5 separate regions of the Homo sapiens genome follow, and all the other regions are linked to region 1. Evidence: promoter capture Hi-C in 16 types of primary human blood cells and fetal thymus (Javierre and others, 2016). All regions are on one chromosome and are shown on one strand. The core of a region is centred on a gene start or on the middle of the fragment in contact, and the rest is flanking DNA. Distances in the headings are between cores, read along the strand shown.

The links. The method cuts DNA at HindIII sites, captures the fragments that hold promoters and counts their contacts. A CHiCAGO score of 5 or more calls a contact.
Region 2: a fragment that was not itself captured here is called in contact with the fragment with the promoter of ZHX1 in region 1 in 1 of 17 cell types (naive CD4 T cells); the score reaches 5.0 in naive CD4 T cells.
Region 3: a contact is called between the fragment with the promoter of TMEM65 here and the fragment with the promoter of ZHX1 in region 1, in 2 of 17 cell types (total B cells and fetal thymus). The highest score is 5.6, in total B cells.
Region 4: a contact is called between the fragment with the promoter of TATDN1 here and the fragment with the promoter of ZHX1 in region 1, in 1 of 17 cell types (monocytes). The highest score is 5.7, in monocytes.
Region 5: a fragment that was not itself captured here is called in contact with the fragment with the promoter of ZHX1 in region 1 in 7 of 17 cell types (total B cells, fetal thymus, neutrophils and 4 more); the score reaches 9.1 in total B cells.

Annotation. Positions count from the first base shown.
Region 1 is chr8:123,272,998-123,275,697 of GRCh38, forward strand. It overlaps ZHX1 (zinc fingers and homeoboxes 1), which reads right to left and starts at 1,289. Exons shown (of 4, transcript NM_007222.5): 1 at 1,220-1,289. It overlaps ZHX1-C8orf76 (ZHX1-C8orf76 readthrough), which reads right to left and starts at 1,289. Exons shown (of 6, transcript NM_001204180.2): 1 at 1,220-1,289. RefSeq lists silencers at 546-913, 950-1,149, 1,350-2,039 and an enhancer at 2,520-2,639. The HindIII fragment of the contact is 9,533 bases long and covers 1-2,700 here.
Region 2 is chr8:124,462,424-124,465,123 of GRCh38, forward strand. RNF139-DT (RNF139 divergent transcript) reads right to left here. Exons shown (of 2, transcript NR_108047.1): 2 at 70-2,700. Among named protein-coding and RNA genes, the nearest start is that of RNF139-DT, 11 kb to the right of the region's middle. The HindIII fragment of the contact is 1,028 bases long and covers 852-1,879 here.
Region 3 is chr8:124,371,376-124,374,075 of GRCh38, forward strand. It overlaps TMEM65 (transmembrane protein 65), which reads right to left and starts at 1,326. Exons shown (of 7, transcript NM_194291.3): 1 at 479-1,326. The coding sequence starts at 782. RefSeq lists silencers at 349-398, 409-538, 589-718, 849-1,118, 1,239-1,468 and enhancers at 1,193-1,487, 1,699-1,888. The HindIII fragment of the contact is 4,556 bases long and covers 1-2,482 here.
Region 4 is chr8:124,537,779-124,540,478 of GRCh38, forward strand. It overlaps TATDN1 (TatD DNase domain containing 1), which reads right to left and starts at 1,307. Exons shown (of 12, transcript NM_032026.4): 1 at 1,247-1,307. The coding sequence starts at 1,268. It overlaps NDUFB9 (NADH:ubiquinone oxidoreductase subunit B9), which reads left to right and starts at 1,345. Exons shown (of 4, transcript NM_005005.3): 1 at 1,345-1,509. The coding sequence starts at 1,409. RefSeq lists an enhancer at 1,168-1,237. The HindIII fragment of the contact is 3,000 bases long and covers 1-1,938 here.
Region 5 is chr8:124,445,303-124,448,002 of GRCh38, forward strand. No RefSeq gene overlaps it. Among named protein-coding and RNA genes, the nearest start is that of TYW2, 4.2 kb to the right of the region's middle. The HindIII fragment of the contact is 2,542 bases long and covers 44-2,585 here.

The sequences.
Region 1 (2,700 bases), core at 39-2,538:
GCTGAGTTGACAGAAAAGGGCTGTGGAATTCCTGCTCTGTCCGATATCTTCCCTGTATTCCTCTTTTCTCATCCCTAGTCTCTGTTCTAATTCCCCCGCCTGCTGTCTCTCATTGACGCCTTCCCAGCTGCTGGATCCTTCACTAACCTAAGCTAAGGATATCAAATGGAATCTTTTCCTTCTCAGGGGCTATGCTCTTTCCTTACAGTTACCCACGGAGGAGAGAGGACAGGAAAGGTACTAAAACAAAGAATTGCCAAGTCCCTTTACCTCCAACTTTGGTGTAAATATATAAGGAAAGGGGATCTGCCAGGGCTCTTCTTTCCTGCCCTTAGACCTTGTTCCTCTCACACCTCTCCTTCCCAGCCTTTTATACCCCTTGAGGTATTAGTAGATTGTTCACTGTGGGCCCTAAGGCTTGGAGGATTCCCATGGGTCAGCCCCCACACCCCCACGCCCCTACCATCCTCTTTAATTAACTTCTCCCTAAATCCCAGGGCTTCGTCACAATCGTAATATGGTTCTTAAGGACTCAACTCCCAGTCTTTCCCAAAGTTGGGACATGGCCTGGCCCCGAAACGGGTGCGCATAGCCTTCCTTGAACTGGAGGTAAAGACTTCTCCTGAAGGGTTTGCTGGGGCTCCAACCTCAGTCAGTGCGCTCAGCTCCAGCAAGAGAATCTCTCCTTACTCTCAGGGAGACTGGGTCCCCCACGAGGCAGCCACACGCCCCCGGAGGACAGCGCTCCTGACCTCCTCTAGGACTCCCAACATTACTGGGGTGCTCCCTCCGGCGGCGCCCTCCGCTGGGAATACGCAGTCTTCACTCCTCTCAACAATCCTAAGTTGCTGGGTCCTCACCAAGGCAGGGGGCTGAGATGTTCCCTCCAGAGAGCCCCCCGCCCCCAAGCTCTTTCGGTGGCGGAGACACCCAAAAAGAGCGAGGGAGGCTGTGGGTCTGTCTGTCCCTCTGCGGCGACTACCCAGCCGCGAGGCAGGCCCCGTCCCTCCCCCTCGGACGCCCCACGCCGGGTCCACCCCGCCACCCGCCGCCGCGAGCGGGCTCAGCCCCAGGGGTCTCTGCTGTGAGGCTGCCCTCCTCCCGCCAGGCCCCGCGCTACTCGCCTTTCCCGTGCCGGCCGCGGACTCTGCGCTCCAGTTCCCACCCGCAGCCCAGAGTCTCCGGGCCCGCTGGTCGCGGAGCCGGCTCGCGCCACTACCTGCAGGGGCCGCCGCGCCTCTCAGCGCCACGCCGCCGCCATCTTGCATTTCAAACCGGCTGCACTTTTCAGGGAGTCAACTCTGACCTGTGAACCCTAAACCCGGAACCGCTCGGCGGGCCCGCAAAGGGGCCTCAGCAGCTCGGTGGCCCCGCGGAGTGTGGGGACTCAGGGTGGGGGTGCGAGGAGAGGCGCGCGCCCCAGCGGCCGTCCGGGGGCGGAGGGGGAAGGGAGAGAGCCGGCCAAGGCGGGGCCCTCCCGCGCGCGCGTCCTCCGCGCGCCCCCACCCCGTGCGGCGCCGAGCTCTCCACGCCCAGACCCTGCTACTCCACTGGGGTCCGACCCCGGCCCCTAGTCCGGGGATTGGCGCACCGCGGGAGGTAGGGAGGCGCCCCGCCCCCCTGTCAACAGAAGCCCCGCCCCAGACTGCGGAAGCTCCGCCCCCTGTCAGGAGACGCCCCGCCTTCCCAGGGCTCGAAATGGCCCCGCCCTTTGCCTGCGACCGCTCCGCCCGCTGTGGACTGAAGCCTGGTCTTCTCTCGGGTCAGCACAGAAGGCAGCCCCGCCTTCCTTGCGCTCCGCCTTCCTAATGTCACTGCTGGATCGTGAGAGGTAAGCATGCTGGCTTCTACTGAAACGCCCCTTGTCATCACACGCCCATCCCCTGGGGCGACACGACCCAGGCCCCGCCCCTCGGGGGGCTGCTGCGAGTCCGGCCGGGAGCCCAGCGCCCTGACAGAAGTCGCCGCGCCCCTTGTCAGCGGCAGCTCCACCTCTCCTCGCTTCGGACCCCGCTCCTCCGCGGGCCGCAGCTCCACCCGCTGACACCGAAAGTTCAGTTCAGCTGCACTCAGAACCGCCGGGCAAGGCGGAGCCGCCCTCTGCCCCTCAGCCGCCCTCCTCCCTGCGAACCGCCACTCGCTCTTCCAGAGGCTTCTGTCCGAGTCGAGGGCTTCACATCCCGTCGGCTTTCAGGGAACCAGCCCCGCAGCGGGGCCAGCGAGGGCCAGGGGTTTCGGGAACACTGCCCGGCGTCTCCGCCCCTCCCTACTCACTTTCCCTTTCCCCCGCACCGCGGTCAGAACGTGGAGGAACAGAACCAAAGCGGAGAGCGGCGACTCACCCTCCAGCTGCTCCACACGCCGGGCCTTGGACGCTCGAGCGCTCCTGGGCCCCTTGACGTTCACTCCCCACCCCCATCCCAGTCGCGGACCCTTTGTGCAGAGCTCCGCTGAGCCACAGTAATCCTAAAAGCACAGCAGAGCTCCGCTGAGCCACATTAATCCTAAAAGATGCAATTGCTTCAAGTGGAAGTCTGATTTTTTTTTTTTTTTTGAGACGGAGTCTCGCGTTGTCGCTTAGGCTGAAGTGAAATGGCGCGATCTCTGCTCACTGCAACCTCTGCCTCCCGGGTTCAAGCGATTCTCCTGCCTCAGCCTCCCGAGTAGTTGGGATTACAGGGGCCCGTCACCTAACGCCGG
Region 2 (2,700 bases), core at 116-2,615, 1.2 Mb after region 1:
CCTGAAGTTGTCCCACCCTTTACTGATGCTCTATTTATTTTGGTAGGAGGTGTGTGTCTCATTTTATTCTTTTTTCTCTCTGTTTCAGGGAGGTTCTACTGCTGCATCTTCAAGTTCACTGATCTTTCTTTCTGCAATATCTAATCTGCCATTAATCTCATCTAACATATTTTTCATCTCAGACATTGGAGTTTTCATCTCTAGAAGTTTGATACGGGTCTTTTTATACCTTCATTGTCTGTAATATCTTCAGTCTTTCCTCTGGTTTCTTGAATACATGGAATATAATTATAATAACTGTTTTAATGTCCTTGTCTAATAATCTTCATCATCTGTAATTTCTGAGTCAGTTTTGACAGAATGTTTTATTTTTTGTTTGTTTTGAGATGGAGTCTTGCTCTGTTGCCCAGGCTGGAGTGCATTGGCACAATCTCACTGCAACCTCTGCCTCCTGGGTTCAAGCAATTCTCCTGCCTTAGCCTCCTGAATAGCTGGGACTACAGGTGAGCACCACCACTCCCTGCTAATTTTTGTATTTTTAGTAGAGACGGGGTTTCGCCATGTTGGCCAGGCTGGTCTTGAACTCCTGACCTCAGGTCATCCACCTACCTTGGCCTCCCAAAGTGCTGGGATTACAGGTGTGAGCCACTGCACCTAGCCCAGAATGTTTTATTTTTCTTATTATGGGTTGTATTTTTCTGTTGCATGCCTGGTAATTTTTGATTGGATGCCAGCCATTGTGAATTTTACTTTGTAGATTATTTTCATATCCCTAAAACAGTTTGAACTTTCTTCTGGAGTATGATTAAGTTATTTGGACACAGTTTGAATGTTTTTGGGTCTCTCTTTTAAGCTTTGTTAGGTTATTCTAGAGCATTTAGTCGAGGGTTAATTTTTCCCGCTATTGAAGCAAGACCTTTCTTAGTACTCTAACTGGTGCCTTGTGAATTAGGATCTTTTCCACTCTTGCTGACGGGATCAGGAATCATTCACCATCCTGTGTGAGCTTTGAGTATTGTTTTCTTTAATCCTTTCTGATGGTTCTTTGCCAAGCCTTTGGTTATTTCCTCTCATGCATGTACTAATCATTATTTAGCTTAATACTTCAGGAGAATGGTCAGCAGATCTCTGGAGTTCTCTCTGTGTCACTCTGTCCTCTCTAGTATTCTACCCTGTGAACTCTAGTTGCCTTGGGCTCTCAGGACTCCCACTTATATCTCCTCACCTCACAGAGTCTTCTGGGTTCCCTCTCCCCATGCCAAAGCCTTTCTTCAGGCAGCAAGTTGGAGCAATTGTATTGCTCACCTTGTTTGCATTCCATCTCTCATGGATTACTATCCTTCACTGCCTATGTCCAATGCCTTCAGGGCCATTGTTTCATATATTTTGCCCATTTAAAAAAAGTATTTGGAAGTTTATAATTACTTTCTACTTAAATTTACTAGCTGTCACAATCATTACTGAAGAAATTCACTCTTGCAATAATATACATATGTACTTCATTTGACACAGAATTTCAACATGTAAAGCATATAAGAATTTCTTGCCACAATCATGTTTAGAATGCTTACCTATAAGGTGAATATTAAAATATTAGTAAATACAATGACTTTTTTCAGATTAGACATGATAAATAACCTGCAAGGTTACTTGACCATTGGTCACACAGAATTTCAGAGAGATCAGAACCAGTGTCAAAATAGGTATTTGTCTTTTTGGCTTTTTAAAGGTCAAGGTTGAATCAAGGGTAAACGAAAATATTGCATGAACATGAAGCTAAAATTGAATTTTATGTAACACAACAACAGCACTGGGTAAATAGAGATAGGTGGATAGACTGTCTCAGTTTCTTTTTAATAATTTTTATTTTTTTAATCGAAGCTTTACACATAATTTAAAAACTCAAAGGTAACAAAACCTAATATGAAAAAAGCCCACCATGATGAAGCAGCTGTTCTGCAGGTGTTTTGCCCTCATTCTGTGTGTCTACTTTCAATTCCAAATGGGCTTATATGACCAAAGAGATGCAGGATCTAACCAACATGTACCAACAGGAACCATGAGCATGTGTATGGAACTGGGTCCTGAGAGTGCTGGACAAGAATTAAGTTTGTGTTTATATAGGACAGCAGTACCCATTTATAGTATTGGCTTAGGGTTATGTTAACTCTTCCACACTGCGTCATAATCCGAAGAGATCTAGACCATCTAAACATCCCACATAATGTCACAATGACCTACCACATTGATGACATCATGCTAGCTGGATAAGGTGAATAATAAGCAGCTAGCATACTGTACACTGGAGGATGGGAAATAATCCTTAAGACCCAGCAAGCTGTTACCTCAGTGAAACTTTTAGGGCCCAGTAGGCTGCTTGAATGCCAAGATATCCCCTTCACAGTAAAGGACAAATTATTGCATCTCACCCACTCATTTCACCAAAATTATTCTGCCACCAGGGAAGCACACCAAGCTGTGTAGGCTTCTGTGGGAATTCAGAAGTTGGCAGTACTGTTCTGACTCGTAAACTGGGTGAGATAGAAATCTGCCAGTTTTCAGTGGGATCCATAGCATGTAAAAGTTCTCTAGCAGGTATGGTGTATTTAGCCCTGTTGCATGGACCAATTCAGGATATTCTATGGGACAAGAGTAAATGTGATAAGAAGCCATGAAAGTTGAAGGCAAGCTCCAATGGGA
Region 3 (2,700 bases), core at 76-2,575, 1.1 Mb after region 1:
CGTCTTCATTTGATAACCGTTCAAAAAGTTTCTTCCTGCCAGGCGGGTTTGCAGCACTTTCTCGGAGCAGGCACAGCATGCCACCTGCACGGGTGCACGCTCGCAAGAAAGCAGCAAGGGCTAAGGGACAGGAGGGCTGGGGAGGGGAGGCACGGGGCAAATCAAAACTCAATCCCAACAGCGTTAACTGGCATTTTAGGCCGAAGCTCCGGATTCGGAGGCTGGGGAGGAAGTAGCTAGCGCTGGCCTCGGCTGCCTGGCACGACCCGCGCCCGTCCTACCTGCCTGGGGGAAACTCGGGCGGCGGAAAGTCTCCCCGCCCCCAGCCGTCCCAGGCGTGGGGCCAGACAGGCGAGGGGGGCGGAAGGGGGGCGGCGGCGGGGGTCCAAGATCCAGGGCCGCAGCGGGCTCCCGGTGGGCTGGCGAGAAGAGGAGGGCGTCGGGGCCCCCGGGCTCGCCCCCCACCTGCCCCCCTTACCTTGGGCAATGGCAATAGACTCGAAGCGGTGCAGCTCTTTGAGCAGGCAGCTCCTCTCCGTGGAGTGCAGGCTGTAGATGAAGTCGCGCGCGCCCTGCGCCGTGTTCAGCGCCTCCATGGGCTCCTTCTTGGGGTGCGTGCCCAGCCGCCTGGGGCCGCCCGGCAAGCCGCCGGGGGGCGCGAGCGCCAGCAGCCCCCGCCCGCAGCAGCACCAGGACGGCGGGCGGGGCGCGGCGGCGGCGGCCGGGCCCGGCCTCAGGCTGCGCGCGGTCCGGCTCCTCAGCAGCGGCAGCAGCCGGGACATGGCGAGCTGAGGAGCTGGGACCCCCGCGGCCGTCCGGCAAGGCGGTTTCTGGCGCGGCTGAGGCGAGAAGGAGCTGGGCTCAGCTCGACCCCGCCCCGAGGTCCTCCTGCCAGGCAGCCGAGGCGCCGGGCACCATGCACTCCGCGGGCCCGCGCGGCTCTCGCCTCCTGTTCCGTCCCCACTTCCTTTCCAAAAGGCCCGCGGCGGCTCCCGCCCCTCCGATGGGAAAAACTTTCTCTGAGACGGCCGGGCCCGGACAGCGCCCGGAGAGGGCGGGCGGTCGGTGCGGGCGGGCGCCTCCCGGCTGAGGAGGAGCGGCGCGGGCGGGCGGGGCGGGCTAGTGTGTGTCTCTGTCAGTCTGATCTTCCAGAGGATGAGTCAGCCACGCACCGCCCTCCTCCAGCGCCGCCCTACTCTCCCGCCAGCTTTCTCACCCTCTAGCCTCCCCACGTCCCCACTCTGTAAGGTTCCCGAGCCCTCAAAGCAGCCGCGCTCCCGAGCCGCAGCCGCCGCCGCCGCCGCTACCCCTAGCGGCAGCAGAAGTGGGAACGGGGCGGGGCGAAAGGGGAAGGAGGTGCGGGGGGGCGGGGAGGTGTGTGAGCGAGGCTGCGCAGGCGCAGTCTGCAGGCTCTCGGGCCGCCCTCCCTCCTAGGGGAGGAGCGTGCACACGCGTCCCCTCCCGCGCTGGTGCGTGAAGGTGGAAGGAGGTAGGGTGCGCCACCCTGTGCTGGCGTTAAACCTACAGATCGGAATAGGGAAAACGAGCTCTGGACCCCTCGCCCGCCAGGGTAGTACAGCTGCCACCCGGCCCCCAACCTGGGGCCACATCTGGAGCTTGTTCTGAAAGGTGCCCCGGCGTGCGGCCCCGCTCTGGACAGGCGGAGAGCTGCGCTGCCACCCCAGCCCCGACGGGATCACGGCGCTCTGCTCCGGAACGAAGCGCCCCAGCTGCGCCCTTCGCCAAGTCAGCGCCCACCGCCGCTTCGGCCGAGCAGGCCGGCTCTAATGCAGTCGCTCTGGGCGCCCCAAAGAGAAAGCGAAGCCAGTTCCACCCCTGCCCAAGGAGGGTCTGAGACTGAGCCCTTGACACGAGAACAGTCCTCCCCGTTCAGATTCCAGCAGCTGGCATGCAAATTGTTAATGCTAGAGGCAGAGGCAAGAATGTCATAGACCTTTCCTAGTGGTTGCTTGTGATTTTTTTGTCTCTGTGCTAAAGCGGGAAGAATAATTTGATTGTCCACGATTTCCCCTGATCCAGGTCCTAGGCATCTTTCAAGGCCCAGGTGAAAGGTCTCCTACTTCATTAAGCTGTCCCTAATCTCTTCTAAGGGAGGAGATCTCTGCTTTATCTGAACCTGTCTAATGACGCTTAGGCACCCTTAGAGAATAAATCCACTTAATAAATCTGCTGGAGCGTAATCAAGATCTAAATCCCATCCTTATCATAAACAGTGCTGCACTCAGCCCGGAAACTTGTAGGTAGTAAATGTGCTACATGTAAGTAGAATATTAAACTGAATAATGGAGGATTGTTACCACTAAAGCCTCCTACTTCTCTAACTCTGGTTCTCAAAGTGTGTCCCAGAGCTTTTTAGACGTGAGAAATAGTGGACCCCACTTCACACCTCCTGAATCAGAACGTAGACATTGGACCCAGTCATGTGGGTTTTAACAAGCCCTCCAGTAATAACACACACGAAAGCTTGAGAAACACTGATGTCTCTTAAACATTGAAAGGAATCGCTTCTTTTTTAAATTCCAAGGTGATGCCTCTGTGATGTAATAACAACAATTAAGAATGCTCTCTGTGGAAATGAAAGCTTTTTGAGTGCATAAAGTATATCTTCCTTGTCTTTGAAACCCCCTTCATTCCCTAGTGTGCACTGGAATCCTCTGCAGAGCTATTTCAGTCTCAGGC
Region 4 (2,700 bases), core at 57-2,556, 1.3 Mb after region 1:
ACCCCTACTCCAGGCTTTCCCACAGCAATTTCAAAACCTTTTTCCTGGCACTTAACATATTCTCCCCTGCATTTGCTTTTGACTGTACAGTACATAGGTCTTAGGTCTCCAGTCTGAAAACTGCACCACTAGATTTTACAGTTCCACAGGACTTAGCACAACGTCTTTGAAAAAAAAAAATACTGCTTAAATAACTCTCAGATCTAAATGTATAATCCTAATCTCTTGATTGCCAGACCACATTCCCAATTGCCCAGATATCTCTACCTGGATGTCCTATAATTATCTCAAACTTAACCTAATCCAAATGGACCTGGGTACCTCTCTTCACCGCCAAACTAGTCATGCTTCCATTTCATATTTAAGTACTTTTCCAAACCCTGAGTCATCTTTGTTCACTCTCTACTACCGGCCATGAACACTCAGCTGCTAAATGCTGCACACATCTCTTCCATTTCTCTCTCTTTTCCATTACCCTAGTTTAAGCTCTTGAAATGCTTCCCTACCTCTCCCTATTTCCCACAAAACCTACATAATAGCTATCAGGATTACCTTGCTAAAGCAGAGGTGTGATCACTGTCATTTCCCACCTTCAGGTAGCTGGAAACCCCACAAAACGAGGATCATGCCCATTTAAATCCCGCAGCATTCTCCCTCTCGTTCTACTGATGCCGACTGGATCATTGTACTTGCCAAGTACAGTTTGTTTTTCTCCCCATTACTTGTGTTTTCTAGTTTCTCCACCAGATGGTGATGACAGTACAACTGGGAGCTTTGTGCCCTGTGTTCCTAGGCCAGTGCCAGGCCCACTTGAGGCGCTCACTAACTATGATATGAACGAATGAATGCTTGAGTGAATTGGTCCCCAGAAGCGGTCAGCCTCTCCGCCAAGGCAGAGGGGAAGGGCCGGGAGGTGCACGTGGGATGAATGGAAACATAGTGATTGGCCTTTTTGGAGTTTTCTTCTTAAAAAACTGAATACATTACAGATGTTGAAAACAGCACAAAAATCATAACTGTACGGCTTGTTAATTTTTACAAATAAATACACCCTCGTGAATCCAGAACCTAGATCAAGAACCAGAGCATTACCAGCACCCAGAAACCTCCCCGCGCCCTCCTCCACTGAGCGGCCCTTTCAACCCTTACAATGCCGGAGGGCGCAATTCCTGGGTCCTGTGACCTTGGTGACCGACGCCCGGGACAAGTCAGAAAGACCCAAGGGCGTGGAAAACGCTCCTCTTACCGATAAACTTGAAGCGACTCATGACTGCGCATGGAGGACCTCCCCAGCGGAAGCGGAAGTGGCCGCCGGCAACTCCGCCCTTCCGGCTGGCCCCGCTCAGTCACCCGCAGCAGGCGTGCAGTTTCCCGGCTCTCCGCGCGGCCGGGGAAGGTCAGCGCCGTAATGGCGTTCTTGGCGTCGGGACCCTACCTGACCCATCAGCAAAAGGTGTTGCGGCTTTATAAGCGGGCGCTACGCCACCTCGAGTCGTGGTGCGTCCAGAGGTAAGGGATGGGGACCCAGGACTCGGGGAGGTGACCCTCGGGGCCCCATGGAGGTGGAGAGGCCCCTGGGTACCTGGAGGTTCAAGGACTTCGGGAACGGAATTGGAAGGTGGCCTCTCGCTTCACAGAATCCTATGGTAGACCCGGGTTCAAATCCAGGCTTCGCCACTTATGGCCGGGAGACCTTGTAGAGTTGCTTGTCGGGTCTGGGCGTCAGCTTTTTGTTTAGTAAAACGGACGCACGACCAGCGCAGAGGGTCGCAGGAAAATTAAGTGAAATAAAGGAAAGTGCCTAAAATTGTAATTGTCATGGGTCCAGCGCTCGCTCAATCGTTTTCTTCACGATCTTCTCCTTTCCAATATTAACAGCAATAAACTATGCATTATTTTCTTCAGTCTGCAAAACTCTAGGAGTTAGGAATTATCTTAAGCTTATTTTACAGATAAGAAGATGAGCACAGCTGGTAACTTGCGCAAGGTGATAGAGTTTCTAAGTGTCTGAGCCAGGGTTAAAATTTAGGTCTTTCTCCAAAGCATCATCATTCTCCCACCCCTCCCATTAGCTTTTCTCTTTTTAGCTTCATCTAGTCCTTTTCATTACCTTTACATCTTTTTCACCTCTTACATAATTCTCTTTCGACCTCTATCCGTCTGAGACTAGTCTGAGAACATAGTGTTAAAATGTGTAGATTTTAATCACCTAAATTCATTGCAGGGTGGGCTAACAACCCAAGATGTGTGAGTGCCTCGCCTCCACTCCAGTCTTACGACTCTCCAAACGTAGTTTTATAAGAAGGCCTTCTGGGAAAAAAACTCTATGGAAAATGGAGTAGGCCTGGAAGAATTACAGAGGGTACCCTCGAAGCCCAGATTGCATATATGTGACTATTAGAAAATCACTGACATACTTCTCTTGATTTGGCAGGAAGATGGCCAAGTACAATGTGATGGGATTGTTAGTTTCTTCCTTGAGTTTTCCTTATTTATTTATTGATTTGACAGAATTTGCAATTCAGATTCTATGCTCTATGCTAAATATATAAATGTTAGTAAATCCATTTTTGAGCAGCAGCAGCTCACGGATTAGTGGGGAAAATGGACATGTAAACAAATCGATGATGAAGGAAGTTGAGCCATCAGGGATTCAGGTATCCCAACACAAATGGTAAATGTTTGAGGTGATGAATATCC
Region 5 (2,700 bases), core at 65-2,564, 1.2 Mb after region 1:
AAAATTTAGAAACCTTGATTGACTTTTCAGGCCAGATAGGAAAAGCTTCAATCCAACATGTAAAGAAAGGTATCAACCAACACTGATAAATATTGGAATCCTTTACATGGGGGCATTTGGGTATAGTGTGTTTGCCAATCTTCTTCTGGGTACGACCCCCTATGCTGAACAGGCTTTACTAATGGAGGAGGTAAAGTTTGGTTGTTTGAGGTTTTTTTGGGCACACAATTCACAGGCCCAAGTCACTTGTTTTACTGTTCTAAGAAAGTCTTTTCGGCCAGGCACGGTGGCTCACGCCTGTAATCCCAGCACTTTGGGAGGCTGAGGTGGGTGGATCACGAGGTCAGGAGTTCAAGACCAGCCTGGCCAACATGGTGAAACCCTGTCTTTACTAAAAATACAAAAATTAGCTGGGCATGGTGGCAGATGCCTGCAATCCCAGCTACTCGGGAGGCTGAGGCAGAGAATTGCTTGAACCCAGGAGGCAGAGGTTGCAGTGAGCTGAGATCACACCACTGCACTCCAGCCTGGGTGACAGAGCGAGACTCCGTCTCAAAAAAAAAAAGAAAGTCTTTCCCTATAAACAGATGAGCCATATTAATTGAAATGAGAAATCTCTTCCCAAATGAGTAGAGCCATGCCAATACTTAACTATTTTCCATTGATCAGCTCTTGGTACATATCATCTGTCATTTTCATCAATTAGCCATCTGGAAGTGCTTATAGTTAACCCATGGGTCTTAGCCCATTTTTGTTCTTTTCTAGTATTAACCATGCTCTAGTTTTATCGTCACCAAGGCAGTGGGCACCAACATGCCTACCAGATTAACTGGTTCCCTCAAATGAAGCTGCCTCAGCTGTAGCATCTGCAAAAGAATGCCCTTTTATTATTTTGGAGTTTTCTTTCTTTCTTTTCTTTTCTTTTTTTTCTTTTTTTTTTTTTTTTTGAGTCAGAGCCTTGCTCAAGTTGCCCAGGCTGGAGTGCAATGGCACGATCTCAGGCTCACTGCAACCTCTGCTGCCCAGGTTCAAGCAATTCTCCTGCCTTAGCCTCCCAGGTAGCTGGGATTACAGGCACGAGCCACCACGCCCAACTAATTTTTGTATTTTTAGTAGAGATGGGGTTTCACCCTGTTGGCAAGCCTGGTCTCGAACTCCTGACCTCATGATCCGCCCGCCTTAGCCCCTCAAAGTGCTGGGATTACAGGTGTGAGCCACAGTGCCTGGCATATTTTGGAGTTTTCTTTTTGATGTCCCTTGCAGTGAATCACAGCAACTTCCTTAGGCAGCAAGGAAGCATCTAGTAGATTTAAAATTCCCAAATAATGTTCTATAGGGGAGCCCTTAGAAGTTAAAGAGTCCCCATTATTTCCAAATAGCAGCATGAGCATGAAGCACCAGAAAGCCATACTTGGAGTTTGTGTACATGTTAATTCTTTTTTAAAATTATTATCCTTTTTTGAGACAGAGTCTCGCTCTGTCTCTAGCCTGGAGTGCAGTGGCATGACCTTGGCTTACTGCAAGCTCTGCCTCCTGGGTTCAAGTGATTCTCCTCCCTCAGCCTCCTGAGTAATTGGGACTACAGGTGTGCACCACCACGCCCAGGTAATTTTTGTATTTTTAGTACAAATGGGGTTTCACCATGTTGGCCAGGCTGTTCTGGAACTCCTGACCTCAAGTAATCCGCCTGCCTCAGCCTCCCAAAGTACTGGGATTACAGGTGTGAGCCACCACACCCAGCCCTAGTGGCCCGTCTTTTAAATCCTGCCAGCTGGAATAAATTTGTTCCATAGCTTGTGTACATGAATGATCTAGGGTGCCTTTGGATCCAAGTAGATACGTAGCTAGGATTAAGGTCTTCTGTTATACTTTAAGAGTTATATCAAGAGTATCTAGCAATAAAGCCTGATAATTTAATAACTATCCCCTACTCATCTATTGGTGCCCTTTAGCTTCTAGGGCCTCTGTTATTTGGTGTGGGGTCAAAACCTCCAGATGTTGTCCCAAAGTTAATTTATTGTCTTCATCTATGAGAAGAGCAGTTGTTGCAACTGCCCTGAAACATCTGAGTCATCCTGAAGCCACATGGTCAATTGGTTAGAAAAATATGCCATGGGTCAAGGGATGTATCCCTGTTTCTAGACAAGAACATTTAGGGCTGTCCCTTGTTTCTCAGCCACATAAAGGAAGAAAGTAAAGCCTGTCCCTAAACCCACGGGGAAGAATTGTCCAAGTTAACACAGAAACCAAAAGATTATTAGGTAATCAAAAGTAAAGACCACAATAGGGGACTCAGCAAAAGAAATGTTTCACTAGAGAAGGGAAATGACAAAGTTCTAGAAAGGAATGTCCAAGTTCAGGCCAGTAGCGGCAAGCAGGACAAGATTTACATGGCCTTGCCATTTGTAACCAAAAAGTAAAAGTCATTCCATTAGCAAGGAGATGAAAAAGAACTGCTGAAAAGCAATCTCCAGTTTTCCATCCTGGAGCAGTTCACCTAGGGGGGACTGGTATAATTGCTGCCAGGCTTAATCTTTCACATTGGACCTTTTCATTTAAAACTTGTAAATGCGAAATTCCAAGTAAGCTTTGCAAAAAAGGAGAGACAATAAACAATTCATTTAAGTGGTCTAGATCTAGGGAAAGTAAATATTACAGAGCCATTTGTCCCCAATGTCTTCTAGCAACATGCCAGAACAA